Regions from separate parts of the Homo sapiens genome. Here regions 2, 3, 4, 5, 6 and 7 are each linked to region 1. Evidence: promoter capture Hi-C in 16 types of primary human blood cells and fetal thymus (Javierre and others, 2016). All regions are on one chromosome and are shown on one strand. Each heading gives the region's core, a stretch centred on a gene start or on the middle of the fragment in contact. The rest is flanking DNA. Distances are from core to core; before and after follow the strand shown. Region 1 holds the start of H2AC18 (H2A clustered histone 18). Region 2 overlaps CA14 (carbonic anhydrase 14). Region 3 has its middle 25 kb from the start of ANP32E. Region 4 has its middle 23 kb from the start of LINC02988. Region 5 overlaps PLEKHO1 (pleckstrin homology domain containing O1). Region 6 overlaps VPS45 (vacuolar protein sorting 45 homolog). Region 7 overlaps VPS45 (vacuolar protein sorting 45 homolog).

What was found. Contacts are between HindIII fragments. The CHiCAGO score rates a contact against its expected background, and 5 or more counts as called.
Region 2: a fragment that was not itself captured here is called in contact with the fragment with the promoter of H2AC18 in region 1 in 1 of 17 cell types (M2 macrophages); the score reaches 5.2 in M2 macrophages.
Region 3: a contact is called between a fragment that was not itself captured here and the fragment with the promoter of H2AC18 in region 1, in 13 of 17 cell types (total B cells, naive CD8 T cells, monocytes and 10 more). The highest score is 7.7, in total B cells.
Region 4: a contact is called between a fragment that was not itself captured here and the fragment with the promoter of H2AC18 in region 1, in 17 of 17 cell types (neutrophils, total B cells, naive B cells and 14 more). The highest score is 13.9, in neutrophils.
Region 5: a fragment that was not itself captured here is called in contact with the fragment with the promoter of H2AC18 in region 1 in 13 of 17 cell types (endothelial precursors, M1 macrophages, naive B cells and 10 more); the score reaches 11.6 in endothelial precursors.
Region 6: a contact is called between a fragment that was not itself captured here and the fragment with the promoter of H2AC18 in region 1, in 7 of 17 cell types (M0 macrophages, M2 macrophages, M1 macrophages and 4 more). The highest score is 8.8, in M0 macrophages.
Region 7: a contact is called between a fragment that was not itself captured here and the fragment with the promoter of H2AC18 in region 1, in 2 of 17 cell types (activated CD4 T cells and total CD4 T cells). The highest score is 5.4, in activated CD4 T cells.

What each region holds. Positions count from the first base shown.
Region 1 is chr1:149,841,242-149,844,468 of GRCh38, reverse strand. It overlaps H2AC18 (H2A clustered histone 18), which reads left to right and starts at 1,719. Exons shown (of 1, transcript NM_003516.3): 1 at 1,719-2,251. The coding sequence starts at 1,771. The coding sequence ends at 2,163. It also overlaps the pseudogene H2BC19P. The HindIII fragment of the contact is 2,631 bases long and covers 434-3,064 here.
Region 2 is chr1:150,262,542-150,265,768 of GRCh38, reverse strand. It overlaps CA14 (carbonic anhydrase 14), which reads right to left. Exons shown (of 11, transcript NM_012113.3): 5 at 3,149-3,227; 6 at 2,899-2,965; 7 at 2,570-2,727; 8 at 2,350-2,470; 9 at 2,090-2,110; 10 at 1,891-1,975; 11 at 691-1,176. The coding sequence ends at 1,110. APH1A (aph-1A gamma-secretase subunit) reads left to right here. Exons shown (of 7, transcript NM_001077628.3): 7 at 1-365. Among named protein-coding and RNA genes, the nearest start is that of SNORD13C, 2.5 kb to the right of the region's middle. The HindIII fragment of the contact is 1,864 bases long and covers 558-2,421 here.
Region 3 is chr1:150,209,111-150,212,337 of GRCh38, reverse strand. It overlaps the pseudogene RN7SL480P. Among named protein-coding and RNA genes, the nearest start is that of ANP32E, 25 kb to the left of the region's middle. The HindIII fragment of the contact is 5,688 bases long and covers 1-3,227 here.
Region 4 is chr1:150,181,901-150,185,127 of GRCh38, reverse strand. No RefSeq gene overlaps it. Among named protein-coding and RNA genes, the nearest start is that of LINC02988, 23 kb to the right of the region's middle. The HindIII fragment of the contact is 8,966 bases long and covers 1-3,227 here.
Region 5 is chr1:150,157,445-150,160,671 of GRCh38, reverse strand. It overlaps PLEKHO1 (pleckstrin homology domain containing O1), which reads right to left. Exons shown (of 6, transcript NM_016274.6): 5 at 3,186-3,227; 6 at 607-1,853. The coding sequence ends at 1,149. Among named protein-coding and RNA genes, the nearest start is that of LINC02988, 1.7 kb to the left of the region's middle. RefSeq lists enhancers at 1-184, 1,315-1,816 and a silencer at 965-1,014. The HindIII fragment of the contact is 1,316 bases long and covers 1,086-2,401 here.
Region 6 is chr1:150,139,557-150,142,783 of GRCh38, reverse strand. All of the region lies in intron 14 of VPS45 (vacuolar protein sorting 45 homolog), which reads right to left. Among named protein-coding and RNA genes, the nearest start is that of PLEKHO1, 8.7 kb to the left of the region's middle. The HindIII fragment of the contact is 645 bases long and covers 1,244-1,888 here.
Region 7 is chr1:150,107,305-150,110,531 of GRCh38, reverse strand. It overlaps VPS45 (vacuolar protein sorting 45 homolog), which reads right to left. Exons shown (of 15, transcript NM_007259.5): 14 at 1-36. Among named protein-coding and RNA genes, the nearest start is that of PLEKHO1, 41 kb to the left of the region's middle. The HindIII fragment of the contact is 3,882 bases long and covers 1-3,227 here.

The DNA of each region.
Region 1 (3,227 bases), core at 470-2,969:
AATTCTCAGAAAAAAGGGGGGTGTGGGGAGGGGGAATTGCCTGGGGTAGTGAGTGAAAATTGTGACCAGGTTCTTACTAAGGAATATGGCAACTGCATAATCAAATGTCAGTGGTTACCAAACTTATGAATCACCTGGTGTTGTGTCATAGATTGTCTATCCTTGCCTCTCGCCCCCAGTGATTTAGATCAGTGGAACTATGTGGGGTTTAAGAAATATACAATATATATTTGTATATATTTGTGTGTCTCGAAAGCTTCAGGGTTAAATAAGTTTTAACTGTTTAGGAAACACTATTGTTTTAGGTATCCAGTCTCAAAGACGAAGGCCTTTAAAACTTACTTAATTTTTCATTACATTTCTTGCCCAGAAAATTGTAAAATACCCAACGATAACAATGGGGAATTGTCTATCAGCACTTGACTAAAAAGCTTTACTATCCATGACAGCAGCCTTTGCATTACTCAATTCTGATGGCATTTAACGTCTTGAAACCCAGAAATAAATACCTATAGACTCACAGTACCTGAAAGGAATACCAAATTGAGACAAGAGAGCTATATAAACCAAAAATTGCTTCAACCACAGAATGGAGGTCTACAGGTGCGGAAGGAAAGTTTATATGGTGAGGCTTGGTCGCAAAACTATTAGGAATATTTTCAGGTTACTACACAATTTTGCGAGCTCAATATGCAGTTAACACTTTTTCCCTTGACTCTCCTGAGCAGATTTACATTGACCGCACCCGTAGCATATCGTCTCACTTTGGAAAAGGCAAATTATGTGCACATGACCCTGTCACTACAAGGTAGTTCTCGACCAAGCTACATCTTATAGCTTTATCTTATATTCCTCTCCCATCATCTGCAGGAAAAGGGATAGGTGCTGAGGGAAAACCCCTAAGTAGAACTCACAGTAAGCAGTGGGAAAACAGCTTATTTCACTAACGGGGTTAAGTGGCCCTGAAAAGAGCCTTTGGAGACAAAGCAGCCGGCGACCCGCGGAGGGAGGGAGGGAGGGAGCGAGCGAGCGCCAGGTCCCGGCAGGGACTCACTTGGAGCTGGCGTACTTGGTGACCGCCTTGGTGCCCTCGGACACGGCGTGCTTGGCCAGCTCGCCGGGCAGCAGCAGGCGCACGGCCGTCTGGATCTCCGGGACGTGATGGTGGAGCGCTTGTTGTAGTGCGCCAGGCGGGACGCCTCTCCCGCGATGCGCTCGAAGATGTCGTTGAGGAAGGAGTTCATGATGCCCATGGCCTTGCACCAGATGCCGGTGTCGGGGTGGACCCGCTTCAGCACCTTGTACACGTAGATGGAGTAGCTCTCCTTGCGGCTGCGCTTGCGCTTCTTGCCGTCTTTCTTCTGGGCTTTGGTGACGGCTTTCTTGGAGCCCTTCTTGGGAGCCGGCGCGAACTTTGCAGGCTCAGGCATGGCCAGACCCAAGACCGACACCGACCCCCGAGAACGCAAGCAGAGCGGTAGGCTCGGGGTCTACCGGAAACGACTGTGTACTTACAGAGGCTGTGCGCATGACGCTGCGTTATGGTTCGCGAGTTTTCCGCGGCGCGCAATGCGAGGGAGACGAGATTATGTAAATGAGTGGATTCTGGCTGAGCTATCCTATTGGCTATCGGGACAAAATTTGCTTGAGCCAATCAAAGTGCTCCGTGGACAATCGCCGTTCTGTCTATAAAAAGGTGAAGCAGCGGCGTTTTCGGCGACTTTCCCGATCGCCAGGCAGGAGTTTCTCTCGGTGACTACTATCGCTGTCATGTCTGGTCGTGGCAAGCAAGGAGGCAAGGCCCGCGCCAAGGCCAAGTCGCGCTCGTCCCGCGCTGGCCTTCAGTTCCCGGTAGGGCGAGTGCATCGCTTGCTGCGCAAAGGCAACTACGCGGAGCGAGTGGGGGCCGGCGCGCCCGTCTACATGGCTGCGGTCCTCGAGTATCTGACCGCCGAGATCCTGGAGCTGGCGGGCAACGCGGCTCGGGACAACAAGAAGACGCGCATCATCCCTCGTCACCTCCAGCTGGCCATCCGCAACGACGAGGAACTGAACAAGCTGCTGGGCAAAGTCACCATCGCCCAGGGCGGCGTCTTGCCTAACATCCAGGCCGTACTGCTCCCTAAGAAGACGGAGAGTCACCACAAGGCAAAGGGCAAGTGAGGCTGACGTCCGGCCCAAGTGGGCCCAGCCCGGCCCGCGTCTCGAAGGGGCACCTGTGAACTCAAAAGGCTCTTTTCAGAGCCACCCACGTTTTCAAATAAAAGAGTTGTTAATGCTGGCCACTCTCAGTCCAGCGTTCCTCAGTAGTGAATAGCGAACCTGGAGCTGACGGGACGGGACGGGACGGGACGGGACGGGACGGGGCGGGGCGGGGCGGGGTGTGTGTGTGTGCGCGCCGTCTTCCATCTGGAGCACGTAACTGCCTTGGCTCTTCGATGAGTGGGTCCCCAGTCCTAGGACTTCCCAGGGCAGGTGCAGGCACCAAACGTCCTGGGCGCCGCCACGGTCCGCTCCACACAGTCACAAACACCAGCGCCGCGGGCAGTACCCAACGCGCTGAAGTGTTGCGCGCGGAGCGCGCGCTTCCCTAGTGGTTTCCGCAGGCTATGGCCGGACACTTAGACCTAGTCTGGCACCAGCGGGACGTGCTCCTCGTCCCCACCCCCGATGGGGAGGGCCCTGAGCGGGTAGTGCTCGCTAGTGTGGCGGAGCTGGGTCTTGGCTTCACTGAGCTGACTTAAGTCTTAGTTTCTGTTTTGTTTTCCAAAGCGCCCTGGCGGCGGAGAGTAAGGGCCTCGGAGGCGGAATCTTGCGTCCTGGGGGCGGGCACCTCTCCCACCCAAAAGGCACCCGACAGGCGAAAAACGATCCGCCAAGTAGCAACTGGGGGCGGGGGGCAAATGGAAGAATGAGGTTCCACGCGGGAGCTGTAGGGCGCAGCAAGAAAGGGGGGGTATTGCGGGCAGTGTGTTCTAAGGAAGCGAAGGGCGGAAAGGGAACAATCTGACAAAGCTGCAATGGAAAATGACTTTCACCCTGAAGGAAAGGGGAAAAACAAGCTTGCGAAACTTCGCCAACTGGTAAGTAGAAAGTGAGGCGGGGTGGGCGGGATTAGGGAGGAATCTGCCCAAGCCAACCGGTGACTTTAGGACGGGTGACGTCACAGCCAATGGACAGCCAGCGCGGGATTTTCAATTATTGTTCCGCCCAATCGGGAAAAGACT
Region 2 (3,227 bases), core at 240-2,739, 420 kb before region 1:
CTCATTTCGGTCCCTTTCTCCTTGGTCCCAGACCTTGGGGGAAAGGAAGGAAGTGCATGTTTGGGAACTGGCATTACTGGAACTAATGGTTTTAACCTCCTTAACCACCAGCATCCCTCCTCTCCCCAAGGTGAAGTGGAGGGTGCTGTGGTGAGCTGGCCACTCCAGAGCTGCAGTGCCACTGGAGGAGTCAGACTACCATGACATCGTAGGGAAGGAGGGGAGATTTTTTTGTAGTTTTTAATTGGGGTGTGGGAGGGGCGGGGAGGTTTTCTATAAACTGTATCATTTTCTGCTGAGGGTGGAGTGTCCCATCCTTTTAATCAAGGTGATTGTGATTTTGACTAATAAAAAAGAATTTGTAATTGTGGGGGAACTTGGCTTTTAAGGGAGGGGATAGCATGTTAATTGAGATTTCTGTCCTCAGATCTCTCATCCAGCCACTTTCCTAACCTGGCAACCACTGATTTCCAAGCATAGCCTTGGTGCAAGGGCAGAAATCTGGGCTAGTGGTTTAACATGTCTGAAACTTTGGGTTAAGTGTCTTCCCAGAAGCTTATCTTTCCTTCCAGGGGTGGGATAAAAGGAGTTAATCACCCATGCTTCTTTTCCCCATCCTTTGCCCATCTTTACCACCTGAGGGATTCAGGAACTTGCCCACCCTCAAGAGCCTCAAAGGATAGGCCAGAATTAAAGTCAGAAACTTTAATTTCCAAATATATTGATCAAAAATATACAACTTCAACAGCAACTCTTTATCCTAAGGAGAGATCCCGCAGTATATCTAGGGAAAGGGCCATAAAAGTGAGGGGGTAGAGGACTTTGGGGTATATCCCAAACTTCCCCTGCAACTAAACAGAGTTTGTTCTCTGCATTAACAACACAGCGATTTCCTCATTTCCTCCTACATGTTTGGAGAGGCTGAAGGCTCTGCAGTTCTTCCTGGAATGACAGCCTGGGTCCATTCCTCTCTAGGAGATGTCCAGGGGAAGGAGGACATCTGCTTACTACTCCTACAGTGTTTCTGGCCAGATCCTACACCCCATTTTAGAGGCTTCCTGATAGGCATGAAGGGAAGTCATCCACATCCATGGTATCTGAGAAGGAATTTATGCCTCAGTCGTGGCTTGTGCTGAGGTGAAGACCACACTCTTTCGGTTTTCCAGCCTCTTCTTCCTGGAAAGGGGAATGGCTCATGAGAATGACTGCTATCTAAGTGAAGCAGATTAGAGGTGAAATAGGAGAATGCTTTTTAACAGAAAAGAGGGCTGGGCAAGGTGTTTCACACCTATAATCCCAGCACTTTGGGAGGCTGAGGCGGGCGGATCACTTGAGGTCAGGAGTTGGAGACCAGCCTGGGCAATGTAGTGAAAACCCGTCTCTGCTAAAAATACAAAAATTATCTGGGCATGGTGGCACATGCCTGTAGTCCCACCTACTCAGGAGGCTGAGGTGGGAGGACCACTTGAGCCCGGGAGGTGGAGGTTGCAGTGAGCTGTGATAAAGCCATGCACTCCAGCCTCGACAACAGTGAGAACCTGTCTCAAAAAGCGGGTGGCTCATGCCTATAATCCCAGTACTTTGGGAGGCTGAGGCAGGCGAATTGCCTGAGGTCAGGAGTTTGAGACCAGCCTGGCCAATATGGTGAAACCTTGTCTCTACTAAAAGTACAAAAATTAGCTGGGTGTGATGGTGCGTGCCTGTAGTCCCAGCTACTCGGGAGGCTGAGGCAGGAGAATTGCTTGAACCCAGAAGGCAGAGGTTGCAGTGAGCTGAGATTGCACACCACTGCACTCCAGACTGAGTAACAGAGCAAGACTCCGTCTCCCACCTACCAAAAAAAAAAAAAAAAAGAAGAAGGGACTGGAGGAATGGAAAGTAGGGCCTCACCGAATCTTTCTAGCAATGAAATAAACAGCCAGGAGAAGGCAGAGACAGCCAACCAAGATTCCTACACCTAGACTCAGCATTTCACCTGGGGGAGATAAAGGTAAAAGGTGTCAGCCTAGGACTAACATAGATTTTGAGCCTTTCCCCCACTCGGTGAGGACACCTCCCCTCCCCGCATTATCTTATAAGGCTGGCTTACCTGTGGTATACGAGGATCCTGCTGTAAGAGAAGAAAATGGGTCAGTGGGACTTCAGATCCCCATCCCAGCTGGGAGCAGCACTCTCTGCTGCTGTGCCTGGGAGAATCCCCCGGGGGCACCCTGGGGTGGGGGTTGGTTCCCAGTCCAAGCAAGTCCCAGAAACCCCCTCCCCTTTTAGCCTTTTCTTCCCATTGGCTCCCTAGTTCCTGCCATTGTGTCCCCCTCAGTTTCCCATCTCTTCTGAGCCGTGCAGAATCACCTTGGATGAAAGAAGCAAAGACCATGCGCTGATTGAGAGGCTGAAGGGCTCGGTAGTTCTGTACCAGAAGCTTAGAGGGCTCCTCTTCTGTGGAGAACAATGTCCCCTGAAGCTTTTCCAGCTGAGGAGCAGAAGCGTGGGAGAGGTGTTACTTTGGGGAGTGGGAAGGGGTCTGAAGTTACAACTGTGTCTCACCTCACCTCGTTTCTCCACCACTTACCTGTTCCATTGAAATCTGGGACCTTCTATAAAAAACTGTCCAGAGCACACTCTGGTAGCAAGGGGGAGTTGTGAGCGAGCCATTGTAGCGGAAGTACTGCCCCAGCTGTTTGGGGAGCAGCTCTCTTAGGTTGAAGGGAGGCACTGAGGTCTTCTGATCTGGGGAGAACAGACTGGGACTCATCTTCCTTTCAGTGTGCCCTAGCTTACCTAGATAGGGCTCCCAGAAGCAAAATTCCTTGGCTCTATGTAATTGCTTCATCCCAAGGCTTTTAAGGATAGTTTTTGAAAGTCTAATCTTACTTCCTGCTATAGATTTTTAAGGCTCACCTTTATGCCTGACTTCATGCAAGTGACTCAGAATGTGTTCATAAGCTATATTCTTAGTCTCACCCACCTGGAAGAGAAGGAAAGGGAGAGAGTTTGGAATGAGTCCATGTTTGGAATAAGAAATTTATGTACAGAATAAATGGTCAGGGTGGGCTGCTGCCTGCCATAGGAAGGAGGCCAGCAACAGAAATAGGTTTGAGGGTTGCAGAGGAAGTGGAGAGAAACCTGGAAGGGACTGGGGGCTACTGACCTCAATTAGGATGCCCAGGACAGCCAGGCCCTGAGGCCTCTCAGCAGCCTCACTCAAGCTGTCATAGGAATCAGAGTCA
Region 3 (3,227 bases), core at 459-2,958, 370 kb before region 1:
CTCGCTCTGTTGCCAGGCTGGAGTGCAGTAGCACGATTTCGGCTCATTGCAACCTCCGCCTCCTGAGTTCAAGCGATTCTCCTGCCTCAGCCTCCAGAGTAGCTGGGACTACAGGCGCGCGCCAACACATGGTGAAACCCCATCTCTATTAAACATACAAAAATTATACGTTTTATTGGCATCAGTCACTTTTCAGAGAATATTTGCTTCACTTTTTCTTGTGCAACCAAAAGATGTCTTTGATCCTATGGAAGGAGAAGAGAATAATTAAATTTGAAATCTTGTATACACAATTTTTATTAAAATGTCAAAGGACAGTTACATGTTTCTATAGAATTAGCATATGTATATATATACGCTCTATCTATCTATCTATCTATCTATCTATCTATCTATCTATCTATCTATCTAGAGAGACAGGGTCTGTTACCCAGGGTGGAGTGCAGTGGCTATTCACAAGCACGATCCTGCTACTGATCCGCACGGGAGTTTTGACCTGCTCTATTTCTGACCTTGGCCAGTTTACCCCTCCCCTTAGGCAACCTCGTGGTCCCCTGTTCCTGGGAGGTCACCATATTGGTGCCGAACTTAGTGCGGACACGCGATCGGTATAGCACACTACAGCCCAGAACTCCTGGGCTCAAGCCGTCTCCTGCCTCAGCCTCCCAAGTAGCTGGGACTACAGGCACGGGACACCGCGCCTGGCAAAGTTAACAAATATTTAACTGCAGTAAAACTAATGTCAGTAGTTTCTCAGGCATTTTCATTGGCTTTTACAAAGTCACAAAATTGGGTAAAATGAGGGCCATTTACTTTATTTAAAAAAAAGAGGCCGAGCGCTGTGGCTCACGCCTGTAATCCCAACACTTTGGGACGCCGAGGCAGGTGGATCACAAGGTCAGGAGTTGGAGAGCAGCCTGGCCAATATGGTGAAACCTCGTCTCTACTAAAAAATACAAAAATTAGCCGGGCATGGTGGCACGTGCCTGTAATCCCAGCTACTCAGGAGGCTGAGGCAGGAGAATCGCTTGAACCTGGGAGGTGGAGCTTGCAGTGAGCCAAGATCGCGCCACTGCACTCTGGCCTGGGCAACAGAGTGAGACTCTGTCTCAAAAAAAGAAAAAAAAAAAAAAAAGAGATGAGAATATTCTTGGATTTTAAGAAGCCAAGATTTTCTAGTGGGTAATAGCATTTCTCAGAAAAGACTTTTTCTTTTAACAGACTAAATATTTAGGAAAACTTTTTTTCTTATATTGAGGGATTGTATTTTCAGCATTGTTTCGATGTTGCCGCAATATTTTAAAAAATACTTATTAGCAGGTGGAGATGATGTGAATTTGTTGTTTACAACCCGTAGGATATTGAAGAGCTACCTGCTGAGAGAGGAGCTGCTACCATCTGGTCTCTGCTATGAGGCCAAAGCACTACATTGGTCCCATGATAAACCTACTTTTCTTTTTGTGTCATTTATTTTCCTTTCCACTGCTATTCTATATCAGCCTTGAGGTTGCTATTGGAGTTGAGGGACAAATAAGAGGTCATATAATGTAGGCCATCGCATAATGATGAAACATCAATTCTGTGGTCTGTCTCTAAGGCTCTGTCCTTGATAATAAAATACAGTGTGCTGTAATGGTTATCAAGTTTCCACTCCATATTATTAGGTTATTAGCTATTAATTAGATATCACTTGCCATTTTTACTTTACATGACTGTAAATAACTGCTGTCTTTCAGATCTTCATGTACTCAATCTTTACAAGCGGTTTGCAATTAACATATTAAGAAAAAAACCATGGAGAATTATGTGCAAATCCTTTTCAAGGCAAGCAGTCTTACAGCTATGATCAAAGGCATAAAATGTAGAATATTTAACAAACTTTTAAAATCCTTTGTTTAAGGAACATAAGTGATAGGAAAACAAATATGAATGATACCAACTCTATCCCTTGAAAAACAGCCTAAACCCAAGATTATAAACCAAGAGCGAAATTGCAGGCAGAGAAATGGCTGAGCTGACAGCTTGTGCCCAGAAAGCTCAGAAGATGCCAAAACTTTGATTTGCTCACTTCAGTGAAGGCGTGATCCTTCATTTTGCAGGGCTATAGAAGGAGATGTATTTGAGTTTGTAAATACAAAATCGATCAATATGTGAGGGACAGACTTGTGCCGTGAAAATTCACCAAAGTCAGATTTCTAAATCAAGTTGTCAATTTATTAATTTACAGGGAGAATGTATATTTACATTGTTTATGGTATTATTGTTCAGTGTTCTAAATTGGCGCTCTTTAATAGACATATAATTCTGTCAAAAATGCAAGTTGGTGGAGTGCGGTGGCTCTCACCTATAATCCCAGCACTTTGGGAGGCCAAGGCGGGTGGATCACCTGAGGTCAGGAGTTGGAGACCAGCCTGGCCAACATGGTGAAACCCTGTCTCTACTAAAAACACAAAAATTAGCCAGGCATGGTGGTGGGTGTCTGTAATCCCAGTTACTCGGGAGGCTGAGGTAGGAGAATTGTTTGTGCCTGGGAGGCAGAGGCTGCAGTAAGCCAAGATCGAGCCACTCTACTCCAGCCTGGGTGACAGAATGAGACTCTGTCTCAAGAAATAAATAAATAAATAAAATAAAAATGCAAGTCACAGATGTATTTAGAATTTTCTAGTAGACATATTTAAAAAACTAAAAAGAAACAGGTAAAATTAATTTTAATGTATTTTAATTAACCCAACATATTCAAAATATTATACTTTCTACATGTAATCAATGTAAAAAATCATTAGTAAGATGTTTTGTATTTTTTTCATGCAAAGTCTTCCAAATCTGGGATGGATTTTATGCTTACAGCAAATCTCAATTCAGATAGCCACTTTTCTTTCTTTCTTTTTTTTTTTAACAGAGTTTTATTTTTATTTAGTTACTTTCTTCTTCTTTTTTTTCTTTTTATAAAGATAGGATCTCACCATGTTGCCCAGGCTGGTCTCAAACTCCTGGGCTCAAGTGATCCTCCCTCCTTGGCCTCCCAAAGTGCCTGGATTAGCCACATTTCAAGTGCAGTAGTCATGTTGCTAGGTGAAGGTCTCGTGTATCCCTTCTAGGAAAGGTAACTGAGAGGCCAAGTGCACAATCAGAATCCTCTCAGGTGAGCATAGAAGTGGAGGAGAGGGTGCTAGAGGGATATTTTATGTGTTTGACAAGTATGAGGAACCTACCCTGATCCACACTAT
Region 4 (3,227 bases), core at 294-2,793, 340 kb before region 1:
CTCTTAAATAGGTTTGTAAGATCATCCATGTTGATACATGTAACTCCAGTTTTTGTCTACCAACATTTTTGGTATCTGCATACTTGCTAATTCACATAATGATGTTATGAACATTCTCATGTGTAGTTGAGTTATGTGTATGTAAGAGTTCTTTTTGTCTGTTTGTTTTTAAGACAGAGTCTTGCTCTGTCACCCAGGGTGGAATGCAGTGGCACGACTTCGGCTCACTGCAACATCTGCCTCCTGGGTTCAAGCGGTTTTCGTGCCTCAGCCTCCCAAGTAGCTGGGACCACGGATGCGCGACACCACACTCAGTTAATTTTTGTATTTTTAGTAGAGACAGGGTTTCACTGTGTTGGCCAGGCTGGTCTTGAACTCCTGGCCTCATGTGATCTGCCCACCTTGGCCTCCCAAAGTGCTGGGATTATAAGCGCGAGCCACTGTGCCTGGCCTGTAAGAGTTCTTTAGAGCAGGGATTGGCAAACCATGGTCTGGCCCGTGGACCCTCCACCTTTTTTTTGTATGACCCAGACACTAAGGTGGTTTTTACATTTCTGAATGGTTTTTAAAAATGGAAAGACTAATATTTTATGACACATGAAAATTCAAGTTTCAGTGTCCATAAGTAAAGTTTTATTGGAACAGCCATGCTCATGCATTTATATATTACCTAAGGCCGTTTTCAGGCCTAGTGAGTGGTTGTAACAGAGACTGGATGGCGTGCAAAGCCTAAAATATCTGGTATCTAATTCTATGCAGAAAATGTTTGCTGATTACTGCTCTAGTGTGTACGTGGAATGAAATTGCTGGGTTCCACATATTCATTTTTTGCTGTCTTATCAATTAGATCTATTTTTTAAAAATGCAAAACTCTATAATCTGTGCATCAGATTATGTTTTCTAAAACCCTTTTTTCTTTCCTTTTTTTTTTTAATGAGGCCTCACTATGTTGCCTGGGGTGGATACAAATTCCTGGGCTTAAGCTATCCTTCTGCCTCAGCCTCCCGAGTAGCTAGGACAACAGGCATGTGCCAGCCTGCCCAGCCTTTCTGAAGCTCTTAAACAAACATAAAAAGAACTCTCTGGATCTTATGTTTTCATTTTGTTTAAGTAATGAGCTTTAAATACATCCTTGTATAGCTTCCTTTCCTCTCACTTCAGTGGTCCTGATTGTTGTAGTGGTAAGGAATACCAATTAGGTTTATCTTTCTTTGGAGTGGAGAAAAGACTAGGAAAATAACAGACTCGTATAATTTTTGAACTTCAAGATCTTTTTTTTTTTTCAGACGGAGTTCTGCTCTTGTTGCCCAAGCCAGAGTGCCATGGCGCAATCTCAGCTCATTGCAACCTCCGCCTCCCAGGTTCAAGGAATTCTCCTGCCTCAGCCTCCCGAGTAGCTGGGATTACAGGCGTGCGCCAAACACGCCTGGCTAATTTTTTGTGTTTTTAGTAGAGATGGGGTTTTACCATGTTAGCCAGGCTGGTCTCGAACTCCTGACCTCAGATGATTCGCCCGCCTCGGCCTCCCAACATGCTGGGATTACAGACATGAGCCACTGCTCGGCCCAAGATCTCTTTTAAATACCCAAGAATAAGTCAGCTAAAAAACACAAGTGTTGGTCACTGGCTTTTATCGGTCACTGGCTTTTCTGCCCTCTACTAGAATATAGAGTCCATAAAGACAGCAATTTTTGTCTACTTTTGTTTTTACTTGTAAAAATGCCTAGCATGTCGTAGATGCTCAAGGAATATTTATTAGTTGAATGAATATGAAGAACTCCATTCATCTGGATGAAAACTTGAAATTCACTGAACTATTTGGACATAATACATTAATATTTAACAATACTGTATTTGGAATTATGGAAGGCACTTCCTGTTTTCTTCTTCTTCTTTTTTTTTTTTTGTGAGACTGAGTTTCACTCTTGTTACCCAGGCTGGAGTGCAGGCTCAGTCTTGGATCACTGCAACCTCTGTCTCCTGGGTTCAAGCGATTCTCCTGCCTCAGCTCCCGAGTAGCTGAGATTACAGGTGTGCACCACCATGCCTGGCTAATTTTTTGTATTTTTAGTAGAGATGGGGTTTCACCATCTTGGCCAGGCTGATCTTGAACTCCTGACCTCGTGATCTGCCTGCCTTGGCCTCCCAAAATGCTGGGATTATAAGCATGAGCCACTGTGCCCGGCTAAAAAGATTTTTAAAAAATTACTTTATTGAGGTAAAATTCACATGTGAAAATATTTCTATTTTTACATTTTGGAAGGCTGTATTATTTGATTGGGAAAAGATAGATGGGCTGTGCACATTTATTTTTTGTTTTTAAATTTTTTTGTTACTCCACACCCTGAAGAGTCCCTTATTGTTGATTCCCAGGGTTGAGGACTGAGTTTTTTTTTTTTTAATTAGTACTGGTTTCTATGGGATGCAAACTTTTCTCTAATAGCTGAAAGCAGAGGCTTCTGGGTGCTTTCAAATTTATTCTTTCTTCACGGTTTTAAAAGAGGCCCTTGCCTCTTCTGTGTGTCGTTATGCGTACTGGAGTGCAGAATAGAAAATGCAAAACAAGAGAGCCGTACAGGAGGTTTTTCTTTTTAAAGGAGTTGATAGACAAATGGCACAGAGTTCACTGTTCTCGCCAGCTGAGAGTTTAGCTTCCAGAAAGCACTACTTTAGGGAACAAGTGAAGCAGTGTGGAGGGCCTGAAAGGCTTCATTGACACAGCAGCCGGGAGGCTCTTGTAGCACATTGTCTGGGGTGCGGTGCCTTCGGAAACCAGCTCTCGAGATGTCTACACCCCCAACATCCCCAACGCTGAAAACATTCGGGTTTTTTTTTTTGGTTGTTTTTGCCATTATACTTGGTTTTCCAAGTGAGATTCCTGAAAAGGTATTTGCTTTTATTTGTTTTTGTTTATTAGTTTCCTCTGGGTGTCAGTCAGTTCTTCACATGGTCACTTGGCTTACTTGGTAGGAACGTGGGGGATCTGGGTGGTGGGGCCGAGGCAGTTTCCCCAACAAATCACTGGTACGGCATGAATGCGTTTGTTTTCTGAATGAGAATCTAAGTGCTGCCACAAAAAAGGCATGCTGGGGTAGAAGAAATAAGGTGAATTTGAAGCCGACAATTGAAATCATTATTGATAGTTTCCTAGTTTTCCTGAAGGTTGATCTGGAGAGATGGAAGTCTAAGCTAAGGAATAATAGATCTGTATCAGTGAAGTTGTAGAG
Region 5 (3,227 bases), core at 494-2,993, 320 kb before region 1:
GAAACCTCAGCATGGCTGAAAGAGGAACTTGGACAGATGTTTGGTTTTCCCCTTCATCCTACCCAGCTTGCATCACACACCAGTTTCATTCTTAGTTCAGTTCTTCTGTGGGGTCTGTCTCTAGTTCCCCTGTGCTAGGGCCCTGAATCAAATAATGAAACTAGTCTCATCCACTCAAGGTTGGATTTTTTTTTTTTTTTTGAGACGGAGTTTCGCTCTTGTTGCCCAGGCTGGAGTGCAATGGCACAATCTTGGCTTGCTGCAACCTCTGCCTCCCAGGTTCAAGTGATTCTCCTGCCTCAGCCTCCCGCATAGCTGGGATTACAGGCGCCCACCACCATGCCTGGCTAATTTTTTGTATTTTCGGTAGAGACTGGGTTTCATCATGTCGGTCAGGCTGGTCTCAAACTTCTGACCTCAGGTGATCCACCCGCCTTGGCCTCCCAAAGTGCTGGGATTACAGGCGTGAGCCACTGCGCCCGACAAGGGTGGATCTTTGAGTCAAGGTTGGGAAGGGTGTGGAAGATGAAGGGAAGAAACACCTCATGTAAGAAAATCCAGGCAGCTCGATCTCAATGAGAGACTGCTAGGAATGAGAAGCCAGTGTCTGGCTGGGGAGATTTTAATTCCACAAATCCTCCTCAGGGCTGGGATAAATTTCACTTCCATGTGCACGGACAGGTGACACTGGCCTCCACATCCCTACAACTAGAGTTGGGCAGCTGAAACTTCACCCTCAAACTGAAGGCCTGGGGTGGGACATAACAGAAAACATCCTCATCCCCCTCCCGCTCTAAGCTTAGAAGCCCACTGTATCCTTGGGAGCAGCAGTGGACTCCCTGTGCCGTCTTGGGGGCGGGCGGTGTGTGGAGTGGTCAGACTGTGTCTTTACCGTGCCTTCTCTCTCTCTGGCTGGGTAAAAACTTCCTGCTACTGCTGCGGGGTCACTTCCTCAAACCTGAGGGGCATACGAGGGGCATATGGAAAGTAGGTGGGGCAATAAGGGTTGTAGTGGGGTCAGGCATCAGCAAGAGCAATGAGTTCATTTTTGTTTTCTTTTTTTGATTGAGGTAAATAAAAAAGCTTTATCCAGCAACACGGAGATAAGAGTCTGTCCAACCCGACAAGTTCCAGACCCCACCCTGCCCTCACATCAGGCTCTTCCGGTACTGACTGTGCGGGGTGGTCTGTCTGAGGTGGGAGTCCGGGGTCTGCAGGTCCATCTGTCTGTACAGGTCTCTCAGCTCCCTGACCTCCTGCAGCACCCTCTTTGCCTGGCTCCAATTCGATGATGCCTCTCCCAGCAGCCGTTCCGTCTCCAGCAGCAGCTGCTCTGACTCAGAATCCGGCGGAGACCGAGGGGGGTCCTTGGCCTTTCGCTTCCCATCTCCCAGTCCCTGAACCTCTGCCAGAAGCTCCTGAGTCTCCTCCAGTTTCCTTGCTACCAGGTCCTGGATCCGGGACAGCTGCCCCGGGTTGGGGAGGGCAGGGGTTGGGGGTTCCTCAGCCCGCAGCTGGAGGGTGCGGGCAGAGGCAGCATCCCGCTGAGATAGGATCTCCTCCAGGGAGGCGCAGCGGCCTTTCTCTGTGGGCGTCAACTTCTTGGGTGCCTGGGGGGTGTAGGTGGCCCCTTTGTCTGTTTTTTCCCAAGGTCGGGAGAGACTGCTTGCCCGGTCTGCGGAGGGCTGGATGCGGTCTGAGTCCGCTCTCCGCCGGCTCCCTGCCAGCTGGGCCACAGACTTGTCCAGGTCAACCCGAAAGCTCTCAGCACAAGAGGTTGGTTCCTCAGGGGAAGGGTCTTCCTCTTGGATCAAGTCCAAGGTCAGCATCCCATCCGAGGTAGAGGTGGAAGCCTGTGGAGGAAGGGGGGAATGAGTGGGGAACCTGTCATCAGGAGGGATTTTCGGAATGACTGCCTAAAAGATGCAAGCTGTGGTCATTTTCCTCTACAAGCCTTCCTTGAATGAGAAGTACTTTTTTTTAGAGACAGAGTCTTGCTCTGTCACCCAGGCTGGAGTGCAGTGGCACGATTTGAGCTCACTGCAAGCTCCGCCTCCCGGGTTCACGCCATTCTCCTGCCTCAGCCTCCCGAGTAGCTGGGATTACATGCGTGCACCACCACGCCCAGCTCTTTTTTTTTGTATTTTTAGCAGAGGCAGGGTTTCACCATGTTGGCCATGGCTGGTCTCAAACTCCTGACCTCAAGTGATACACCGTCTCAGCCTCCCAAAGTACTGGGATTACAGGTGTGAGCCCCCCTGCCTGGCAAAGCCCTCTGCTCTTGACTGAACCCTCCTACTGAATGTGCTGTTTCTTATTCCTTTGATAGTGACTTGAATGTTTCTTCTTCTGTGATTTAGTTTGTTACTTGTTTCCTGTATTCTCCACTCTACCATAAGCTTCCTGAGGGGCGCCCTCTTCCTTGGTATTGTGGACTCTCAGCAATTAAACTGCATCTGATGCACACAGGATGCTCCCCATGGCACGACTGTCCTCCTCCATCTGCATCCTCTGAGTCCCACACTTCAGCCCCCTTGCCTTATAATAAAATTTGTTCTCTTATTTCCAGAATACTAAAAATGATGAGTATTCAATACCAAATATGTTGTTTTAGTCATTCCTCACAGCAGCCCTTCAAGGCAGGCATGATTACTGCCTCATTTTACAGTTGGAGACATGCAACTTCAGGGAACCACACAGGTAGCTGATTACAGTGAGGTTCCAACTCAGGTTCTAACTCCAAAGCCTGTGTTCTCTGCATTATACCTGCCTGCCTCTCTCTCTGAAGACTTAAGAGCTCAGAGGCATGAAAGAAACTAGCACGTTGTATGTTTCAGGAGTTCATTGTGATCCTTTCTCCTCCAAACACCCGCGGTACTACATGTTGTTACCCATCAAGACAGCCACCATACAGTAGCTAATTTTTCATTTTCCTGTGGGTATAACTCATTTTCTCCGAAAGAGGGTAACATTACTGGGAGCTGGGACTTTTGAACTCCTAATGGGCGCTGAATAAAACCTTTTGATTTAGATCTGGCAGAGGCATTGGGTGGAAGGACTTCCCTCGCCTTTGATCTTGGCATCAAGGAGGCCTCCCGCAAATGCCTCTGGTGGCATACAGTTCTGTCTGAGATGGACTGACACAGAATTGGCCCTTTGGCAATGTTTATTACAGTCTTACATACCACAGCCATTAGGTGTCCCCTTGTTGGGGGGCGGCGGGAGTG
Region 6 (3,227 bases), core at 317-2,816, 300 kb before region 1:
CTAAGGCAGAAGAATTGCTTGAGCCTGGAGGCAGAGGTTGCAGTGAGCCAAGATTGTGCCATTGCACTCCAACCTGGGCGACAGGAGTGAAACCCTGTCTCAACAACAACAACAGCAACAACAACAAGTTATTTGGATGCTCAGGACTCTCTCTCAGAGCAGACAGATATTTAAAAGACAGAGGACTGGAGGAATGACCAGTTATTACCATTGTTTTGCAGTTTTATTACCATCTTGCATTGAAAGATTCTGGGCTTGGAGAATTTAAATTCCAAACTCCTTTGCAAAAGAAAAAATTGCAAAGTAGAGGGAAAGGAGTAGAAGCTAAGTTCATTTGTTCCTCTATGGAAATACAGACATCTTTGGCCTGGCTTTTTGGCCAGTTGGACTAGACACAATTGGAGGTCAGAAAACAAGTGTTAGGAAATGAGGTAGCACTGATTTTTTTTTGAACAATAACACAATAAGTCTTGATGACTTCTAGAAAGAATGAAATAAATGTGCTGGGAAGCCCTATAGGAATTTTATCAGGGGATCTTTGGTTCATTTCCAACTCTGCTACAAAGGGAAGAAATAAAGATCCTCCTCTGTATATCAACAAGACCCCACATTCCTGACTATAATGAGAACACACTTACTATTTATATTTACCAGCCTAATTTTGTTTCCTAGGGCCACTATGACTTAAAAAAAAACTATTTGGGGACTCTAATGAGTCATTGCTCAGAATGCTTAAAAAATTATGGCGAATGAACATATTGCTAGCTGTACCCCAAATTTAGACTATGTTTAAAAACAAAACAAAAAGAATAATTTTTCTTTCTAAATTCATTTTAAATCAATCTCACTTAAAAGCAAACTCAAAAATCCCCTTCTCCGTTGGTGCCATAGTCCAGTTCAATTCAGTTCAATTCAATCCAATTCAACAAATGTTTAATGAGCATCCATTATGAACTAGGTGTTGAACTAGGTGTACAAATGTACACCTTAGTTATGATTCCTACCTTAAGGGACTCTCAGAGACAGATACACAATCACAATCCAATATGAGTATAAACAGAGGCAGTGCCAGAAACTAACAGAGTGGATTAATGCTACTGCTTTTTTTAGTTTGTGCTGTCATCAAGGGTGTTTTCCTGACTCCATGTATAGAAGGAAGGTGGGTGGAAAAAAGCAGAACCCCAACCCTGATTTTAAAAAGTCAACCTTGAGAAGTCTTGAGTCACACACTGAAAAGCAAGCTTCTCCACTTACATCACTGGTAAGGGACTAGAGACCAATGTTTATAGGATTAAAAATATTAATTACTAAAATAATTCAGCTGAACAACTGTGTTTCTATTCCTAAACAAAGCTATCATACTGTAACAAAAACTATGTGTGTGTATGTGTATATAATTTAAGGATATGTCTTCCTCCTTTTTCACTATACTCCACAGGTAAAAATTACATGTGAATTTCTTATACCAAAGACACCAAGGGGAATCTAGAACCTGAATAGTGTTATAATAATTAAAAAAATAGAACTTGTGGGGAGCAGAAAAATAGAAAAAGACTTTCAGGAAAATAATGAGAAAAACCCCAAGATATTTGTCTTAATGGAGTAATAAGCTCCTAATTACAGCCAAACACTTACTTGGAGAAGTTAGGAGTATGGGAGTGGGTAAGGCAGAAGGATAAGATGAAATTATTAATAGCTTAAAACACTGAAAATGCTCCTCACCTCTCAACTTCCACGGCTTGCAGTTTTCAGAGCCACTGCTATGTTTCATACTTCTTTGCTTTTGCACCTGCTATTCAAAGGCTGTCCCATCCATCTCACACTTTGTTTGGTGGAACTATGCATCTTTAAAAACCCAACTCTCACATTATTACTCCTCTAGGAAGCTTTCCTCAACTGCATTGCTTTCCCCTTAGAGTTACGTACTCATTCTTCCATATCTTGTAAATATACTGTGTTGTAATTTATTTGTCTGTATGTCCATTTTCCATGCAAGCTTATGAAGCTTTTAGGGGCACAAGGATACATGAGTACATTCTCTTTGTAAAAGTTCTAAACATATACCTTGTCTTCCTTGACCCTCCTTATCCTCATCACTCCAGAAATAACATAATTTGATCAACAAATATTTACTGAGTGTCTACTATGTGCTAGGCACTGTTCTAGAAGCTGTGAATACAGCAATGAAGAAAGTAAAAAAAAACCCCTCTGCTCTCATGGAATTTATATTCCAATGGGAGAGAAGGAAAATAAAATTAATTAGTAGTTAATAATAATAATACAATAATAATGGTGTACACATATTACTATATGCAAAGTACTGCTCTAATGGACAGAAACCATTCCACTTTAAATACACACACACACACACACACACACACACACACACACACACACCAGAAGTGATGGAATTGGGATATAATCCCAGGCAATCTGGCTTCAGTTTGTCTTCTTAACTATAATGCTATACTGCCTCTTTGTAATATGTTAGATGAAGAAATACTATGGGAAAAGATAAAGCAGGTTTAAAAAAGGAGTATTGGAGATGGTAGTGGTGTGAGATTTTAAAACTAGTGACTGGGCTGGGTGCGGTGGCTCACGCCTGTAATCCCAGCACTTTGGGAGGCCAAGGCGGGAGGATCACTTGAGGTCACTTGAGGTCACGAGTTTCAGATCAGCTTGACCAACATGGTGAAACCCTGTCTCTACTAAAAATACAAAAATTAGCCAGGCGTGGTGGTGCATGCCTGTAATCTCAGCTACTTGGGAGGCTGAGGCACAAGAATCGTTTGAACCTGGGAGGCGGAGGTTACAGTGAGCTGAGATTGCACCACAGCACTCCAGGCTGGGCACCAAAGCAAGACTCCATCTCAAAACAACAACAACAACAACAACAAAAATAAAATAAAACTAGTGACTGGCTGCCCATGGTGGCTCACGCCTATAATCCCAGAACTCTGGTAGGCCGAAACAGGAGGATATTTTTAATCCTATTGCTTGAGTCCAGGAGTTCAAGACCAGCCTGGACAACATAGCAAGACCCTCTACAAAAAATTTTAAAAATTAGCCAAGCATTGTGGTGCACACCTGTAGTCCCAGCTCCTCAGGAAGCTGAGGTGGAAAGATCACTTGAGCATGAGCCCAGGATTTAGAGACTGCAGTGAGCTATGATCATCCCATTGCACCCCAGCATGGGTGACAGAGTGAGACTCTGTCTCAAAAAAAAG
Region 7 (3,227 bases), core at 546-3,045, 270 kb before region 1:
GCTCCTCCAATTACAAACACAATGATATCCTGAGGTCTGCAATAATGAAGAATGAGATATTATCACAGGATAAGAAAAAAAAAGGACTGTGACTTACATACACAGAGTTTTAATTTCTAAATCTTTTTTTTTGGTGGAGGAAGCAGAATTAAAGCAGAATAGAATAAAAGGTTTAAAAAAAGTTTCAATTATCTGAAATTGGCAGGAAACAGAGCAGGAAATGCTGAATAGTGATTTGCTTTCTGTTTATGAGCGGATGTCTTATAATTTCTGTGCTGTGGATTTCAGAATAGCACAATAGTGTTTGCTGGAACCAAATGTAGAAATATTCTTTTATATTCAAGAGGGTGCAGAGTGCCTTACCATGACATGATATCAATACGGCAGAATTTTATGTTTGTATTAATACTACACATCTCCTTTCATGTATAAGCCTTTGTCAAATACTTAATACAGTGCTATTACAATGGCCTCTGTACAAGGACCTCAAAGCATTTTTGAAAGAACTAGCATATTTAGATGTCCCCAAAACATGGAAACTAGAAACATTTAGTATTTTGAGTATAAAAAAAAGAATGGGACACAAAAATTAATGGTGCTTCTAGGAACTCTATCTTTTCTTGAAATCTTTTTTCTGAATCCTTTGATAAACCAAGAAAAAGAAACCATGGAAACCAAAAAAACCATGAGTGTAGCTGATACTGGACATGCGAACACAGCTCAGTCACTAGCTTCACTTGGGTAGCACTGTGTTGTTTTACTCTGTTTCCTGTTTCAATCCGTATCAAAATGGCTTCATAACAAAAGTGAATGTTCCTATTAGCTCCTTCCTTAAATATCACCAAGAAGGAGATCAAATTATTTTCAAAACCATTACTAGGCAAATAATTTTGTTAAATCACTCATTGGACACTAAAACTACATCAATCAGAAGCATCCGTTTTGAATGTTATTGCACAAAACTAACCAGAAACATCTTTAATCAAGGAATATACATGCTTATGTATAAATCATGAAAAAAACCCCAACCCTACATTTCCTTCCTGCTTGTCTCTCTCTCTCTCTTTCTAAAATACCTTGAAAGAATTAACTGAGAGAGTATTTGTTCTTGTGGGACTTCACTGAAACAGAATCAGCTATTGTGGCTATTTTAAAATGTTCAGATAGTCTCTAAATTGCAGAGATTTCCCAGTAAAATTTATACAAGGGTGGGGATGATGGCTCATGCCTATATGCATTTTGGGAGGCCGAGGAAGGCGGATCACTTGAGGTCAGGAGTTTGAAACCAGCCTGGCCAACATGGTGAAACCCAGGCTCTACTAAAAATACAAAATTAGCTGGGCGTAGTGCTAGCTGCCCGTAATCCCAGCTACTCGGGAGGCTGAGGCAGGAGAATTGCTTGAATCTGGGAGGTGAAAGTTGCAGTGAGCCAAGATCGTGCCACCATACTCCAGCCTGGGCAACAGAGACTCCATCTCCAAAAACAAACAAACAAAAACACCCCAAAAAAACCTTCCCCCTAAAAACAGTTATACAAGCTACCAATGATGAAGAGGGTGTTATGGTAAAGTGTCAATTACGATAAGGGTCCCCAAACCCAGGCTGAGGACCAATACCAGTCCGTGGTCTGTTAGGAACTGGGCGGGGGCACAGCAGGAGGTGAGCAGTGAGTATTAGGGCCTGAGTTCTGCCTCCTCTTAGATCCGTGGAGGCGTTAGATTCTCATAGGAGTGCAAATCCTACTGTGAACTACGCATGGGAGGGATCTAGGTTGTGTGTTCCTTATGAAACTATTGCCTGATGATGGGTGAGGTAGAACAGTTTTATATTACTTGACTTATCAGCAACATATGACTGAGGTGATCACTTGCTCCTCCTGGATATACCTTCTTCAATTGGTTTCCAGAAAATTTCATATTTGATTTTTTCCCTTGCTACTTTTCAGTATCCTTTTATGGTCCCACTTCATCTCTGTGACCTCTTAATTGTGGAATACTCAGAGCCCAGACATTGATCCTCCTTTCTTCTTAATCTAAACTCATTCTCTCCATCTGTTCCATTCAGTATAGTGACCACTTGTCACTTATGGTTATTTAAATTTAAATTAACCAAAATAAAATTAAATATTTAATTCCCCAGTAGCACTAGCCACATTTCAAGTGCTCAACAGCTACACTGACAAGTGGTTACATTACTAGTTACCAGAGAAACAGCACATTTCCTTCCCTGGATAATCACACCATTTTTTGGTTGTAAATACATCTGCTGATGGTTCCCAAATCTCCATCTCCAGCCCAGACCTTTCTTCTAAACTCCAGACTTAAATACCTGTTTACTTGACATTTCCATTTGGATGTTTAATTATTTCTCAATTCAACACATTTTAAATCCCCAATCTTCCCTAAGTCTGTTCTACCTATAGCCTTCCCTATCTTACTTGATGGTCACTTTAGCCTTCTAGTTGCTTGGGCCAAAAACTTTGGACTCATCCTAACTCTTCCTTTGGAGCAGAAGTGAAGTTGGGGACATAGTGAGAAAAAGAGGGAAAAGCATAAGCCAGCTCACACACCTCAAATCTCACAGGTCATGGGGTTCTCACAGGTTACTATGATCAAATTTGCTTTTTTTTTGAGACGGAGTCTTGCTCTTGTCACCCAGGCTGGAGTGCAGTGGTGCAATGTCAGCTCACTGCAACCTCTGCCTCCTGGGTTCAAACGATTCTCCTGCCTCAGCCTCCTAAGTAGCTGGGAATACAGGCGTGCGCCACCATGCCAGACTACTTTTTGTATTTTTAATAGAGACGAGGTTTCACCATGTTGGCCAGGCAGGGGGTCTTGAACTCCTGACCTCAGGTGATCTGCCAGCCTTCGCCTCCCAAAGTGCTAGGATTACAGGTGTGAGCCACCATGCCCAGCCAAATTTGCTTTTTTGAAGGATAGTTTTGGCAGCTGTGCAAGAATGAATTGGGTGTAACTGTTGGGAAAAGTTGGAGAATAAAAGGCTAGTGTAAGACTTCTGGGAAGATATGATGAAACCTAGAACTAAAGACATCCCAGAAAGGGTGAAGAGGAGGTACTGGATGTCCAGTCACAAAAAAATACATATTCTTCAGTATTTGGTCAATGACTGAATGTGGAGGATAGGGGTAAAGGGGGAGTCCATAACTTTGTTTTCTGGTTTTGGTAACTAGGTGTAGTGGTTTAGGTTTGAGAAAAAGGACATTTACT